Regions from separate parts of the Homo sapiens genome. Here region 2 is linked to region 1. The links are contacts of gene promoters, found by promoter capture Hi-C in blood cells and fetal thymus (Javierre and others, 2016). All regions are on one chromosome and are shown on one strand. The core of a region is centred on a gene start or on the middle of the fragment in contact, and the rest is flanking DNA. Distances in the headings are between cores, read along the strand shown. Region 1 holds the start of FAM234B (family with sequence similarity 234 member B). Region 2 overlaps EMP1 (epithelial membrane protein 1).

What was found. The method cuts DNA at HindIII sites, captures the fragments that hold promoters and counts their contacts. A CHiCAGO score of 5 or more calls a contact.
Region 2: a fragment that was not itself captured here is called in contact with the fragment with the promoter of FAM234B in region 1 in 7 of 17 cell types (monocytes, total B cells, activated CD4 T cells and 4 more); the score reaches 10.2 in monocytes.

What each region holds. Positions count from the first base shown.
Region 1 is chr12:13,039,928-13,046,803 of GRCh38, reverse strand. FAM234B (family with sequence similarity 234 member B) reads right to left here and starts at 2,423. Exons shown (of 13, transcript NM_020853.2): 1 at 2,364-2,423. The coding sequence starts at 2,400. The HindIII fragment of the contact is 2,713 bases long and covers 1-2,642 here.
Region 2 is chr12:13,213,882-13,220,757 of GRCh38, reverse strand. It overlaps EMP1 (epithelial membrane protein 1), which reads right to left. Exons shown (of 5, transcript NM_001423.3): 5 at 817-6,224. The coding sequence ends at 6,067. Among named protein-coding and RNA genes, the nearest start is that of EMP1, 21 kb to the right of the region's middle. The HindIII fragment of the contact is 5,370 bases long and covers 2,795-6,876 here.

The DNA.
Region 1 (6,876 bases), core at 1,174-3,673:
ACTCCAACCTGACTTCCTCACACATGAAAACAGTGGGGATGTTGGGGCCAGACGCAGTGGCTCATGCCTGTAATCCCAGCACTTTGGGAGGCCAAGGCAGGCGATCACCTGAGGTCGGGAGTTCCAGACCAGCCTGACCAACATGGAGAAACCCTGTCTCTACTAAAAATACAAAATTAGCTGGGCATTGTGGTGCATGCCTGTAATCCCAGCTACTCGGGAGGTTGAGGCAGGAGAATTGCTTGAACCCAGGAGGCGGAGGTTGCGGTGAGCCGAGATCACACAATTGCACTCCAGCCTGGGCAAGAAGAGCAAAACTCCGTCTCAAAAAAACAAACAAACAAACAAAAAAACAAACAAAGAAAACAGTGGGGATGTTAACTACAGGAACATAACACAGTAGCCCAAACAGGACAGCAGTCTCAGGACCCCAATTACAGGGGAGCCAAAAAGAGCTATATAAAAACAACTTGTACCTAATGCAAAAACTAAAAATAGTATTTTGGGTGGAGGGAAGAAGAAAGGGCAAGAAGGAGACAAGGAAAAACGCAAGTGAACATTTTCTCCCATCCAAGTACTAACCAGGCCCGACCCTGCTTAGCTTCCGAGATCAGACGAGATCGGGCGCGTTCAGGGTGGTATGGCCGTAGACGCAAGTGAACATTTTCTTAAAACCCACATCACATGAAAGAACACATGCCTACTATATCTGGGCCTAAAAAAGCATCAAGCATACCTCAGGGCTCAGGGCCAAGCTGCCTGCCAAACAGGCCCATGGACTGGACTATGGGAACCCCAACCAGTTCCTACAACTAATACTCCAGGGAGTAATAACACCACAGCCTTGGGGCATAAGAACACAAAAGACCTCAAGAGTTGCTAAAGCAAGATTTTCATGCATTCTCATTCTTAGAGAATAACAATGACCTACACTGAAATTTTAAAAAAGGACTCTAAAAGAAAAAAAAAAAAGAAATAAAGCTAAATGTCTGACATCTTATTACCCCTCTGGGAGGACATCATTCTACACTAAGGATATACAAAGTAAAAAAGTAAAAAATTAATCCTGCAGGTAAAGGGCCACGTCTCTCCTTTAATTCCAGTGTTATGCACACATTCCAAGGCAGATGCTATCAGTGTTCCTTCCAATGTTCCAATGAGCCCATATTAAAAAAAATAATAATCTGTCTGAGGTCATGAAGTCTGGGGACAGAAACGCAAATTAATATCCAACCTAGCGTCATCCAAATGGCAAGGTTCGCTTCAGGGTAGCATACTGGAAGCTCCTTGAGAACAAGGACCCTGTAATCCCCCTGCAAGCTCAAACTAGCTATCCAACCAAAACCCAAATAGCCCTCTCTAGAGATAGCTATGAAAGCAACTGCTTTTCCCTCTAATACAAATTATCAGCAAATAAATGTTTATAGCTTAATGCTTAAAACTTACCTAGGTAGAGCCATCAATTTTTCTAAAGCCTAATGTTTAAAATTTACTTGGGTGGAATAAATATACTTTTATTTAAATATCAACTTTCTAACAGTACAATCCTACTCTGGAGGTTTAGGAGGAAAAAAAAAAAAAAAGGAAAAAAAACTTGGAGCTGCTGCCCGAAGTACTGAATCAGCTCTGGAAGTTGTCATCACCCCTAATGCTGCCTTAAAGAAGATTCCATACATTATCTTCAACTTATAGGTGCCAAATCATTTCCCATGCTTAATCTCGGCAGCTGGAGACTGACCAAGTGGAATCAAAAGCTCAGGATTTAGAGTGAAAAGACCCCTGACGTTCAAGGCCGAGCTTTCCCAATACTTGTGAGACCTTGGACAATTCACTTAGCCAAATAACTCTCATTTTCTCTTCTGTAAACTAGGAAGGGACGTAAATACCTGTCCCACCTGCCTCATGGATGCGTCGTTGCTGCCGTTAGGTGGAGGGGATGATCCACAGAGGGCCACTCGCCGTCCCGCCGCCCCCGCCCAGGTCCAGCCAAGACAGAAGGCGCCGGAGTCCCTGCGGTGCTGGGTCCGCGGCGCTCGGGAAGGATGCTCCTCTCGCCAGCCTCCCCTCGGGACAGCGGCGACCGGCGTTCTGACATTCCCCGCCGTAACACCTGCTCGGCGCCCTCTCCCCGCGCGTCTCCGGGTTCGCCCCGCGCCCGAGACCCCTGCCCCGCTGGGCGCCCCTCTCGCCCTCTGGTGGCACAGAGACCCCAGCCCCAAGGGACTGCACCCTCCTCGGCACCGGGCGCCTGCAGCTGAGTCTGGGTTGAGGCCAGGGCCCGACCGGCCTCGCCCCCAGAGCCTCGCCTCCCCTTATTCCAACACCGGCGGGGACTGGGTGGTCGCAAGCATGCGACTCCTTACCCGGCAGCTTGAGCGCCCTGGACAGCACGGTCGCCATGGCTGAGGCCCCGGTGCGCGTGCGCGCGCCCGCGTTCTGCCGGGAAGTGTAGTTCCGAGCGGCGGTGCGTGGGGCTGGGACCGGGAAAGGTGGGACCCGCTTGCTGGGGACAGAGCTGAGGGAGGCCAAGCCAGAGTACACGCTCCGCAGGCTTTTCTCCCACCCTACCTATGCAGGTCACCTCACCACTCTGAGTCTCACTTGCCTCGTCAGTGAAATGGGGAGAAAATACCCCGTAAGCTTGCAGTGAAAATGATTCGAAGGAGATATTTAAGGAGGTGTGGATTGTGCAATGTGCGTGGGCTTTGAAATCAGGCAGACTGGATTTGAATCCTGCCTGAATCACTTACTAGCTGGGCCATCTTGGGCAAGTCCCTTGGGGCGACTGAGCTGCCGCTGCTTTTTTTTAATTAAAGACATACTACCTACTTCACAAGCTTGCAATGAGAATTAAATGATACGACCTGTTTAAAACACACAGCACACAGTAGGCACCTAGTAAGAGTGTTTCTATTACGCTTCTTAGGTAGAAGTTGAAGTTTCCTGGAGCTCGAACCCTCATTTATTGCTCCCAGTTCTTTACAGGTGTCTACTCAGCACCCTACGCTGCAGCTTCTAGTTGAAGGGTGTAGAAGGAGGATCCGACTGTGTACATACATCCAATAGATGCAGCATCTCCAGCTCCTCAGATTTCAATGCTTGACCTTTAAGGCATCTGCACGCTCCCCGTAATCACCCCAGCTTTGCCTGAATGATTTTTGCGGAGAGCCCGATGCCCAGGAATTCCTCCTTCCTTGGCTCCCTGAGCTTTCCCCCACTTTGTCTTCCTTGTCCCTCTGGAAATCTCCTTCATCCCTCCATAACTTTTTTCCATTTTAACATAGGAACTGCAGCTTAGAATAGTATTTCTCAAATTTAATGTACTTTCTTTTCAATTAAAGAAAAAAATTCAAAGCAGCTGCCAAATGAATCAGGATCCTTACCTTTTACATAGAGAATACCTGTGTGTTCCTCTCTAGCTACTGAGTGGAATGTGAATACTTTTGCTGCCCAAACACCCACTGAGGTCACTGTGGAAAATGCAAACACCCAGGCCCTCTCTGACTTCTGAACTTGGCTTGCCTCAGGACCAGGCACAGTGGTGTAGAAGGAAGAACTGACTTGCTTCTTTCCCACACGCAAGTGATCAGCATTTTAGTGCAGGAATGCTAATACTGTGTTATCTTAGAACTGGAACAGATCCTAGAGGCTATCTAGTCCCACTCTCCTTGTTTTGTTTAAGAGAAAGCTGAGAAATAGAAAGGTAATGTAACTTCTGAGTGTCACAACAAAAGCTCCAAGATACATCTCATTTGCAGGCTGCCTAATTCCCGTGAGAAACTGCAGACAGGACTATCCTGTGGGAGTAATCTGAGAGTCTCCAGCAATCAGTCTCACCTCCTTTCTTCCCTTGGAAAAAAAAAATGTCATTGTCTCTGATAGAGCACAGGCTCTGGAGCCAGGAGCCAGGCCTCCCGAGATCAAATCCTGACTCTATCATTTCCTAGATGCCAGGCAGAGGGTTAGTTGCTTAATTTCTCCCCACCTCAATTTTCTCATCTGCAAAATGGGGACAAAACAGTTCCTAGTTTATAGAGTTCTCCTGAGAATTAAATATATATGTAGAAAGCACTTACAACAGTGCCTGGCACTTAGTGTTTTCTAAGTATTCACTCTTCTTTTATCGATAATTTCTTAATGTTTTAACAATTTAAAATTTGTAACTTAATAACAAATAATACATTTCATAGTAATTTAATGGTTTAGTAATGTATTTATTTATTAATTCTTTCAACATTCTACAATACCCAAAATTTCTACTGCTTGCCACTTCTCTGGAGGCATGATTAAAAAACATATTTTACATCTATGTAGGTCATCTAAAAGGAGCAACACTACAAGTCACAATGAGCCAGTAGTAGCTTGCCTGATATCAGTTTAACTAAATGGAACGCATTCCTGAAATATGAAGACTGAGAAAAATAACCTGTGAATGTGACAGGGATGTAGAAAAATGTTCATTTTAGTTGCAGAACAAGAACTTGAGTTTCTAGGAGAAAGTTTGGGTGGAAAGGAATAGCCAGGTCACACAGGATAGGAAGAAAGAAGAAAAATCTGTCTCCTTTTCTTAGTGAAAAGGTATATTCCGGGAGAGTACCTTCTTCTGTGATATAAATAAAATAAAGATGTATAAAGTTTTATTTAAAAACTTTGTCTCAGAACCAGGCACAGTGGCTTGTGCCTGCAATCCCAGCACTTTGAGAGGCTGAGGTGGGAGGATTACTGGAGTTGAGGAGTTGGAAGCTGCAGTGAACTGTGATTGAACCACTGTACTCCAACCTGGGCAACAGTATGAGACCCCTGTCTCAAAAACAAAACAAAACAAAAAAAAACTTTGCTTCAAACTGTGTAGTTACCCAAAGTGCCCATGTGCATGTACACACTTACATGTGTACATATAAACATGTGTCAGTGTACATACATCCAATAGATGCAGCATCTCCGGCTCCTCAGATTTCAATGCTTGACCTTTAAGGCATCTGCACACTCCCCATAATCACCCCAGCTTTGCCCGAATGATTTTTGCAGGGAGGCCGATGCCCAGGAATTCCTCCTTCCTTGGCTTCCTGAGCTTTCCTCCACTTTGTCTTCCTTGTCCCTCTAGAAATCTCTTTCATCCCTCCACAACTTTTTTCCATTTTAACATAGGAACTGCAGCTTAGAATAGTATTTCTCAAATTTAATGTACTTTCTTTTCAATTAAAGAAAAAAATTCAAAGCAGCTGCCAAATGAATCAGGATCCTTACCTTTTACATGGAGAATACCTGTGAGTTCCTTTCTAGCTACCTAGTGGAATGTGAATACCTTTGTTGTCCAAACACCCACTGAGGTCACTGTGGAAAATGCAAACACCCAGGCCCTCTCTGACTTCTGAACTTGGCTTGCCTTCCTGACAAGTACAAGAGTGACCGGGGCGGGATGCCTATGAACAGCCTAACCTGCCTGGTGGCTGTGCCTGCTTGAAGAAATTACTTTTCTGAAAAATCACAACTGAAGTCAGAAAATCACCTTCTATTTTTCCTACATTGATCTACAGTGAGAGTGTTCTTCCCCAACCTTCTCAAGTTCCCATAACTCATAGAGGGAACCCATATTGCTGGTTATTACCTTTGTAATACTCCAAGTACTGCTCAGAATCTCTAAGTGTCCTGCATGGGCTTATGATCAAATCTGACCATCTAATGCTTGCCTTTCCCTGGACAGTGTGGCCACTTCTGCTGGTCCTGACTATCCCCACTAGGTTTCACCACCTCTTCTTGGAACCAATGCCACTGTATCTACCAGCGGCCGCCTCCCTTCCTCCTTGGTTCCACTGCGCTGCCAGGCCCCTCAAAAACTGCCTCCTCTCAAAAACTGCTGCCTCTTCCTGTATCTCTCACTAAATGCCACCTCATATTTTAGTGCTCCTAAAATGTCAAAGCTGTGAGGGGCAAAGGAAACCAGGGAAGACTGCCTTTCTCTCCTTTTCATATTACACTTTATTAGGAAATTGCCAATGCTATGCTGCTACTCCTTCAGGTTGAATGCAGTATTTTCATTAGACAGAGCTTCTATTTTTACTTAGCAGGTCAACCAGAGCAAGATAATTGCTGTAACAAACAACCTCAAGATTCCAATGATTTTAGAGTGTAAAAATTTATTTCTGCCTATGTCAGAGTCAAGGTGGGGGTGCAAGTAGACTGCACTGGGGCTCTATTCCTCCCAGCCATTCAGGGACCCAGGCCCTTCTGTCTCCAGCTGCTTCATCCTTAGGGCCTCGGAGGCCTCCACTGGATCGTTTGCATCCCAGATCATGCAGGAAGTGTTATGGGCCAGGCCTGGAGCTGGTGTATGTGAATTCTGCCCACATTTATTAGGCTAGAATTCAGACAGAGAGTATGTGTGCCAGGAAGGTATGAGCCCAGGAAGAAAAGGAGACAAGTTTGGGGAGCATCTAGCCAGTGTCTGCGACACTGGTCACCCCATGCCTTTGTAAATTACAGACCTGAGTTCTTGAGTTCTTGATGGTAGGAAAGGGTTCAGGCGCCGCTCTCCTTAGGATTGCCTTTCTCCTGTAGGGACTAAGGCTTTGTTCCTGAGCTGAGTTTCTTGTAATGACTTATGGGTCTAAGCTGAAGCTCTCCCAGGAGGCTCCCCTCACTCCCTCTGCAGAGAGATTTCTGGAAGCCATTCCTACATCTATCAGCAGAGGATGGACAAATCTGAACTCCACTGACTTATCTGAAGCTGAGGGTAGTACCCTCTGCTACACTGGTGCCAAAAAGGGTCAGGAAGCAGTAATTAGTATGAGATTCGAAAAGCAAAAAGAAAATGTCATAGCAAATAGCAGTGAGGGCAGTGAGATTGAGAAAAGCGAAAGAGGTGCACAGCAGAGG
Region 2 (6,876 bases), core at 4,230-6,729, 170 kb before region 1:
AGCTTTTTATAAGACAGAGGAGAAGTGGTGAAATCAAATTAAAAATAGTACGATTTCATAATGCCCAAAAGCCTGTAAATGTCTATACTAAGGAGTTGGAATCATTCAAAATTCCCAGATAAACTGAATTTAAGCATTGATACATGATATGGTTTGGCTGTTCCCCCACCCAAATCTCATCTTGAATTGTAATCCCCCAAATCCCCATGTGTTGAGGGAGGGACCCCGTGGAAGGTGATTGGATCATGAGGGTGGTTCCCTCATGCTGTTCTTGGGATAGTGGGTTCTATAAAATTTATGGTTTTATAATGCAGTTTTCCCTTCTCTTGCATGCTCTCTCTCCCCTGTCACCATGTAAGACGTACCTCTTCCCCTTTTGCCATGATTATAAGTTTCCTGAAGCCTCCCCAGCCATGCAGAACTGTGAGTCAATTAAACCTCTTTTCTTTATAAATTACCCAGTCTCGGGTATGTCTTTATAGCAGTGTGAAGACGGACTAATACAATATGCTAATGCAAGTGGGAAAACTAAGATTGATTTTGGAATGAAACATGCAGTCTCAACTTAAGAACACCCAATTTACAAAACTATATATATCCAGACAGAGTCATACTGAATGCCATGTTCTCCCACATCAATGTCAAATGCTTAGCATGGCCAGCAAAAAGCTGTTCCTTTGCTGTAATGCAACCGTGTCTTCTGAATATGGATCCATATTCACTTTCCATCTTATCCTCCATCAGACACACTCTTCTTTTCCTAAAGCATTTGCAGGGCAACAGAGGGTTCCAGGTTTCAGAATTTAAACAGTCGTATCTCATTGAAAATAAGTTTAATGATTATTAAGTTTCCAAGCTAGATTACAGAAGTCTTTTTAGCCCATATCATAAATAAAATAGTTCTGAATTTTTCGTATGGAAAAATATACTCTGAGTTCCAAGCAAACAACTTAAGAAAATTTTTAGAACTAACACATTCCTATATTGGGAAGAGCTCAAAAGTCTGTTCTTCCTCCCCATCCACTGTTGTTTAATTAATCTCTTAATATCATAAAGTCCCTCATGTGCCAAGTGTAGACAGTCATTTTTGAATCAGGGCTCACTTTGTTAGCTTTTTTGTCAATTAAACCTCTTTTCTATATAAATTACCGAGTCTCAAGTATGTCTTCATAGCAGTGTGAAAACAGACTAATACAGGAATTTGGTACCAGGAGTGGGGCATTGCTATAAAGATACTTGAAAGTGTGGAAGCACCTTTGGAACTGGGTAACGGGTAGAGGTTGGAAGAGTTTGGAGGGCTCAGAAGAAGACAGGAAGATGAAGGAAAGTTTGGAGCTTCCTGGAGACTTGTTGAATGGTTTTAACCAAAATGCTGACAGTGATGTGGACGATTAAGTCCACACTGAGGTGGTCTCAGAAGGAGATGAGGAACTTATTGGGAACTGGAGTTGCCAATAGATCAGCAGTTAACCAGAAGCTTGAGTTGAGTATGGACCTGACATATGGATAGACATATTGACATCTTATGCTAGTGTTCTGGCCCTCCCTGCCCCGACAGTGATAGAAGCATCCATCAACGCCCATCCTGACATCAGCATAAAGCACAGGTTGGAGAGATTGTAGATAAAGGCAGAGAGGCTATTATAATGCTTCTCACCTCCAGTTCCCCAGATGGAAGACAAGGAGGCCCTGGAACAAAGGAATGGCATTTGGGACAAAGTGATGTTGGCAAGTAAGAAATGCAGCAGTGGTCCAACCCACAGGAGATGCCAGACAATTGCTCATGGCATGAGATAGGGTCATGAGGAAAAGCTGAAGAACTGAAAATCTTTCTTCTTCCCTCCCTAGGCATTCATGCTCCCACCTCATCTACATCCCACAGATCCTCCATTTTCTCTAGGTATGAGATTTATTTCCAAGCTAGACTGAAAGCTGGAAGAAGATGGGACACATGTCTGCTTCATTTTCTATTTCCCCAGCATGTAGGTGCAGCACCCAGCCCCTAGTTGTTTATCAATTATAGGTCTTGATGGTCATGTCCCCAGCCTCCCGCCTCAGGAGTAGGCTTCACATGTCTCCCTTTCAGAAACAAAGCCACGTAAGACTCCAAAACCCCGCCTTCCCTTGGGCTCCACACAATCAGCATACATCTTTCCTTATCTGTTTTGTGCTCTGAAAATCGTGTCTACCTCCAAATGATACATCTTTAAAGTGAGTCACCCCTCCTCACAATCTACTCCAAAATTTCCAACAAGTTTTCTTCTTTTCATTCTTCCTCCCACCAGCCTATCCTATTCCCTTCTCTCCCCCCACAAAATCTAGCTCTTCTTTAAATACATTTAAACATTTTCGCTAGGACATTTCATCTATACAGGATATGCTATATTCTAACTATTTCTTAGTAAACATTGAAGGGAGTTTCTTCCTTTATTCAAGTATGGAACCCTGCTCAATATCCTTTTGGTCTTCATATGCCTTCTTTCAAGGCCTTTGTGAAATTTTTTTCCATGCCTGAAAGCCGGTGGGGTTTTACACAGGGACTGCGATGGCTAAATCCAAGGCAGAGTGGGATCTTTATCTATTAACCATTTGATAACTCAAGTTTATCCCTTGATGAATGAATAAGTTATCATTTGCCTTTGGGTCCCATTCTTGAGTGGTCATGGAGAGTTCTGTAGCTCACCCTCTTTATACTCATAATTTGCACAAATTTCACCTAAGAGTATTTACTTAACCACTTTAATTCAATTTGTCTCTACCTAAGACATTTAATTCAACAAATATTTTTTAAGCTTCTCTATAAAAGGGACTCTGGCAACTTTCAGACCCGCACTGTAGCACCAGCTCTCTGCTGGCCCACCCCTTGCAGACTTTGGGCTTGCCTGCCTTCAAAATCATGTGAGTCAATTCCTTAAAATAAATATATTTTTATTTATTTATATATATGTTTGCACACACACGCGAATCTTATTTTTTCTGTTTCTCTGGAGAATTCTGACTAATGCACCCCCATTCACCATCCAGGCTTTTGAGGAGAAAGATACCAATCTTAGCAGCAGAGGACACTCTGGATAGAGCTAGGAGTTTGTTGCAGAGTCTGACAAAAGTTCCCTCTGCAGAAGGGATGGAAGGATAGCCTTGGGGGTTGATTTAGGACTGGGTGTATGACATGGGGGAAAAGAAATCCCTGGGGGAGCTAAATGAGGGGAGGTGGACCCCTTATGATAGTTTATCAGAGCAATCTAAGAAATCATGTAGGCCTCTAAGAAAGCATCAAGAATCAATGCAATTTGATTAATTGACTTAAAATATGTTGAACTTTTCAGCCTCCATTGTGTATTTTTGGTGCAATACTCTGTGCAACTATTTCATCCAAGACCAGAAGGGGCTGGAAGATTGCCTGCTTCACATTAAAACCCTCCTTATTGTATTGGTGCTGACACGACACAAGGATATGCAGTCTTTATCCAGTCCTTATTGCTCACAGAAAGATACCAGTCCTTACTGCTCACAGAAAGTAGTGAAGCCTCCCTTCACTCACAGAGCCCACACAGGTATGCCCTGGTTTATGTAATGAATGGGCTGCTACAAATAGGTGTGATGCATGCCTTTGTGAATCACTTTATATTTTGAAGACACATTAGAGGAGCTGGCTATTTCAAAGAAATTTCACAAGTGCCTCATTTCTTAATGTCACAAGCATTTCTGATTTATAATCATAACCCCTTTCTAATGTATTAGCTTATGAAGTTCCATTTTTTGCCTAAGAGGTTTAATCAAAGCAAGATAAAACTATGCTTAATAATATTCAGTTACCTGAAAGAGCTATTGCAGAAATGCCTAATATATTACCAGAAAGTAGCTTAATGTCTCAAATAAATGTCAAGTTGTCCAAATCAAACTGATAGGCAGCTTAATGAGGGATAAATGTCATAATTATCCATATTTCTCCACATTTTTTTTAGAAAAAAACATTCACACAATGAAGGGAATCAGAATCTGTTTTTATATCCCTAGAGTTATAAACATTTGTATCAAAATATTTACAATTATAGTATATGAAATAATCTATTAACGAAGAAGCCCAATACAGTACTAGAACAATCCACCAGAGTAATGCAAATTACATGAGACATAAATGTCACAGAAAAAAAGTAAAAGATAAGGGAATACATGGTTTACTCCAGTCATAGTTCAACTTCTTAACAAAATGTGAGTATTCCCTTTGGATATGTCTGAAATGTAAGTATGTTTTTTGCACTAAGACAGCCTTCTATAATCATGTGATAATGAAATCATAATGACAAAGTTCATCTTCCCACAGTTTTTGCTGGCCAATCTCTCTAACCTCAGCCTAGGTAATTTGGTGGCTTGCCCTCAACATTTCCTTAACTAGAATAAACATAGAGAAATAGAATTAGTAATAATCCTTTTACATAAATACCAAAAATCATGGCATAACAACTCCCCAAAAAGGAAAGGTATAAAAGAAATGGATGAGGAGAAAGCTAATAAAGAAAAGTAGGCAAGATGTCTCAGATTCTCCCTGGGGTAGATCTTCTCAGGGCGATAAAGAAAACGTCTTCCCAAAAAACCCCTTTAGACAGAATCTGAGATGGCTTAAAATAGCTGCTCCAGGGCAAAGCAATGCCTGCTTAACCAGGAATAACATACTACTTCTAAGTCCTGTATAGAGGTGCTCCTGCGGCAGCAGACAGCTCGTCTACCATCTGACTAGGTACCACAAGAGTTTTTGCTTTTTTATTTTAAAGAAAAGATCTGCCCATCACCTATATTTTTATTTATCTCATGGGATTTTCGTATTTTCCTGGGAATGCAGGCACTCTGTTCTTATCATGGCTGAAATACGGTAGGCTTAATACTTCACAATTATATAGCACCTTTCACCCAAGGGCCTGTTGTTTGGTTTTGGTTTATGTGTGTTTTAATCAGCTTCCAGAATTGCCATGCCTCACCTGTGAAGTGGGATAGGCAGGGTCCCCAAGAGGTGATCACTCCAGGTGGTGTCTAAGCCAGAGCTACCACTGAGCCTAGGAGCCCTGATCCTCAATATTGATAATTAGACAAAACTTCCTCAAAAATGTTAGAGGAAGAGTAATAGGATTGTGCTACAATGAGCCATGTCCATCTCTCTCCTGTTGTATACTTAAAAGAAACACTGACTGCATTGAGGGGAATCCTAAAAACATAACCCTAACATGGCACTGTTGCAAGACTGCCCCTTGGATCCCATAGTTTGTGTGGTACTTTTACCACCGAATTGTTCACTAGTGACTTTAGAGAAACTCCAGAAGAGCTGCCTTGGCTTTCAGCAAGAGGCCTAGCAAAGACCATGGCATGAGGTCTCCATGAGGGACAGCCGTGTGTGAGGTCTCGACTGGGCTCTGACCATCCCCCAGGTTTTCCATTGTGAAAAGGTCTCCTTCTTGGTTTAGCTAACCCACCAGCATGACCTTACAAACTCTCTTTCCTCCTCCCATTTTGTCACTGAATTCCACAGAGCTAAATATCTGTTCCAAAGAGGGACAATGGCTCACAGGCCAAAGCCCCCCAGTAGGCACTTCAGACTGGAATGTGATGTTTTGCTTTGGGTCAGAAGGGCAGGATGGCTTCCAGGCTTAGCGTATTCAGCACAAAGACAGTATCTGCTCTTGCCAGAACTTGTACCGCTATTTTAACTCAGTGCAGTAGGTCTGTGGACCTCAGTGCATGACCCAGAAGTGGGGCTGGTGTTGTGGCAGCTGATGGGGCCCCAGACAGTGTGTGTCACTAAGAACAGCTGGAGGCCAAGTCTGGTGGCTGCAGGGAGGCTCTCTGGACCCCATCAAGGGAGCATCAAAGTACTAGCCAACTACTTTCTCCCCAGGGCAGGGGCTTGGCAGTAGAGAATCCCCTCAGTAATGGTTTGGGATTTGACCTCCCCCCTTTGCTTCCCCCTCCCCCCTCCCCTATCTCGGTTTTTCCTGTACAGCAACCTCCACTTCCCTCCCAGATTCAACGGCTTCCTCCTCCCCACCCCCCAGATCCCCATGAACTCGTCCGGCCTTATTTCTTTCTCAGGACCAGATAGAGAACGCCGATGATGAAGCTGAAGCAGAAGCAGATCCAGCCCAGGATGTAGGAATAGCCGTGGTGATACTGCGTTCCATCACGATTCGCATAATGACTAGTGTAGATGGACACCCCCACAAGAATGCACAGCCCTGCAGGGGAAAAGGAGATTTGTCGGTGTGTTTTCTTACATTAAAGTCGAGAAAAAGTTTTACTAATTTTAAGAAGATCCTATTTCCCTCATTAGCAATAGGAAAATGAATTCTGCTTGTTTGTCCCTAAACAGGAGTTCTGATGGATGTCCCCTGGGCCAAGCTCGACGGTATGTTGATAAATTAGAGGTGTCTGGGCTCTCATGTCTGCACTGGTTTGTGTGGCCACGCTGTGATGTAAAACACAGAACCTCATGCCTACCACCCAGCTGTCCTGTCTGGCCCTTGTGGGTCTAGGAAAGCTACTCAGGGATGCAAAAGAGCATGTCCTTCCACCAAACCGAGTATATTGGGAAAGAACAACAATTAAGTGAGAATCACAATAATGATGTGCATTGTGGCAGTGGTTTCATCTTTCTGAGAACTCCTACCTTTCTGCCTTCTTGAAGTGTCTTGTACACACGTGCTACTAACAGATATGCACTGCCACTTGGTAGCTACCCAGGAGCACTGGTTTTGAACAATGAAGCAGATGAGGGTTCTTAACCTAAGCAGCAATCCAAGGTTCTCCACAAGAGAACAAATAACCAGAGGAGAAAATTGCACAAGGAAGTTTCACTGAACCATGTGCTAATCTGTTCAAGTTGCCAGA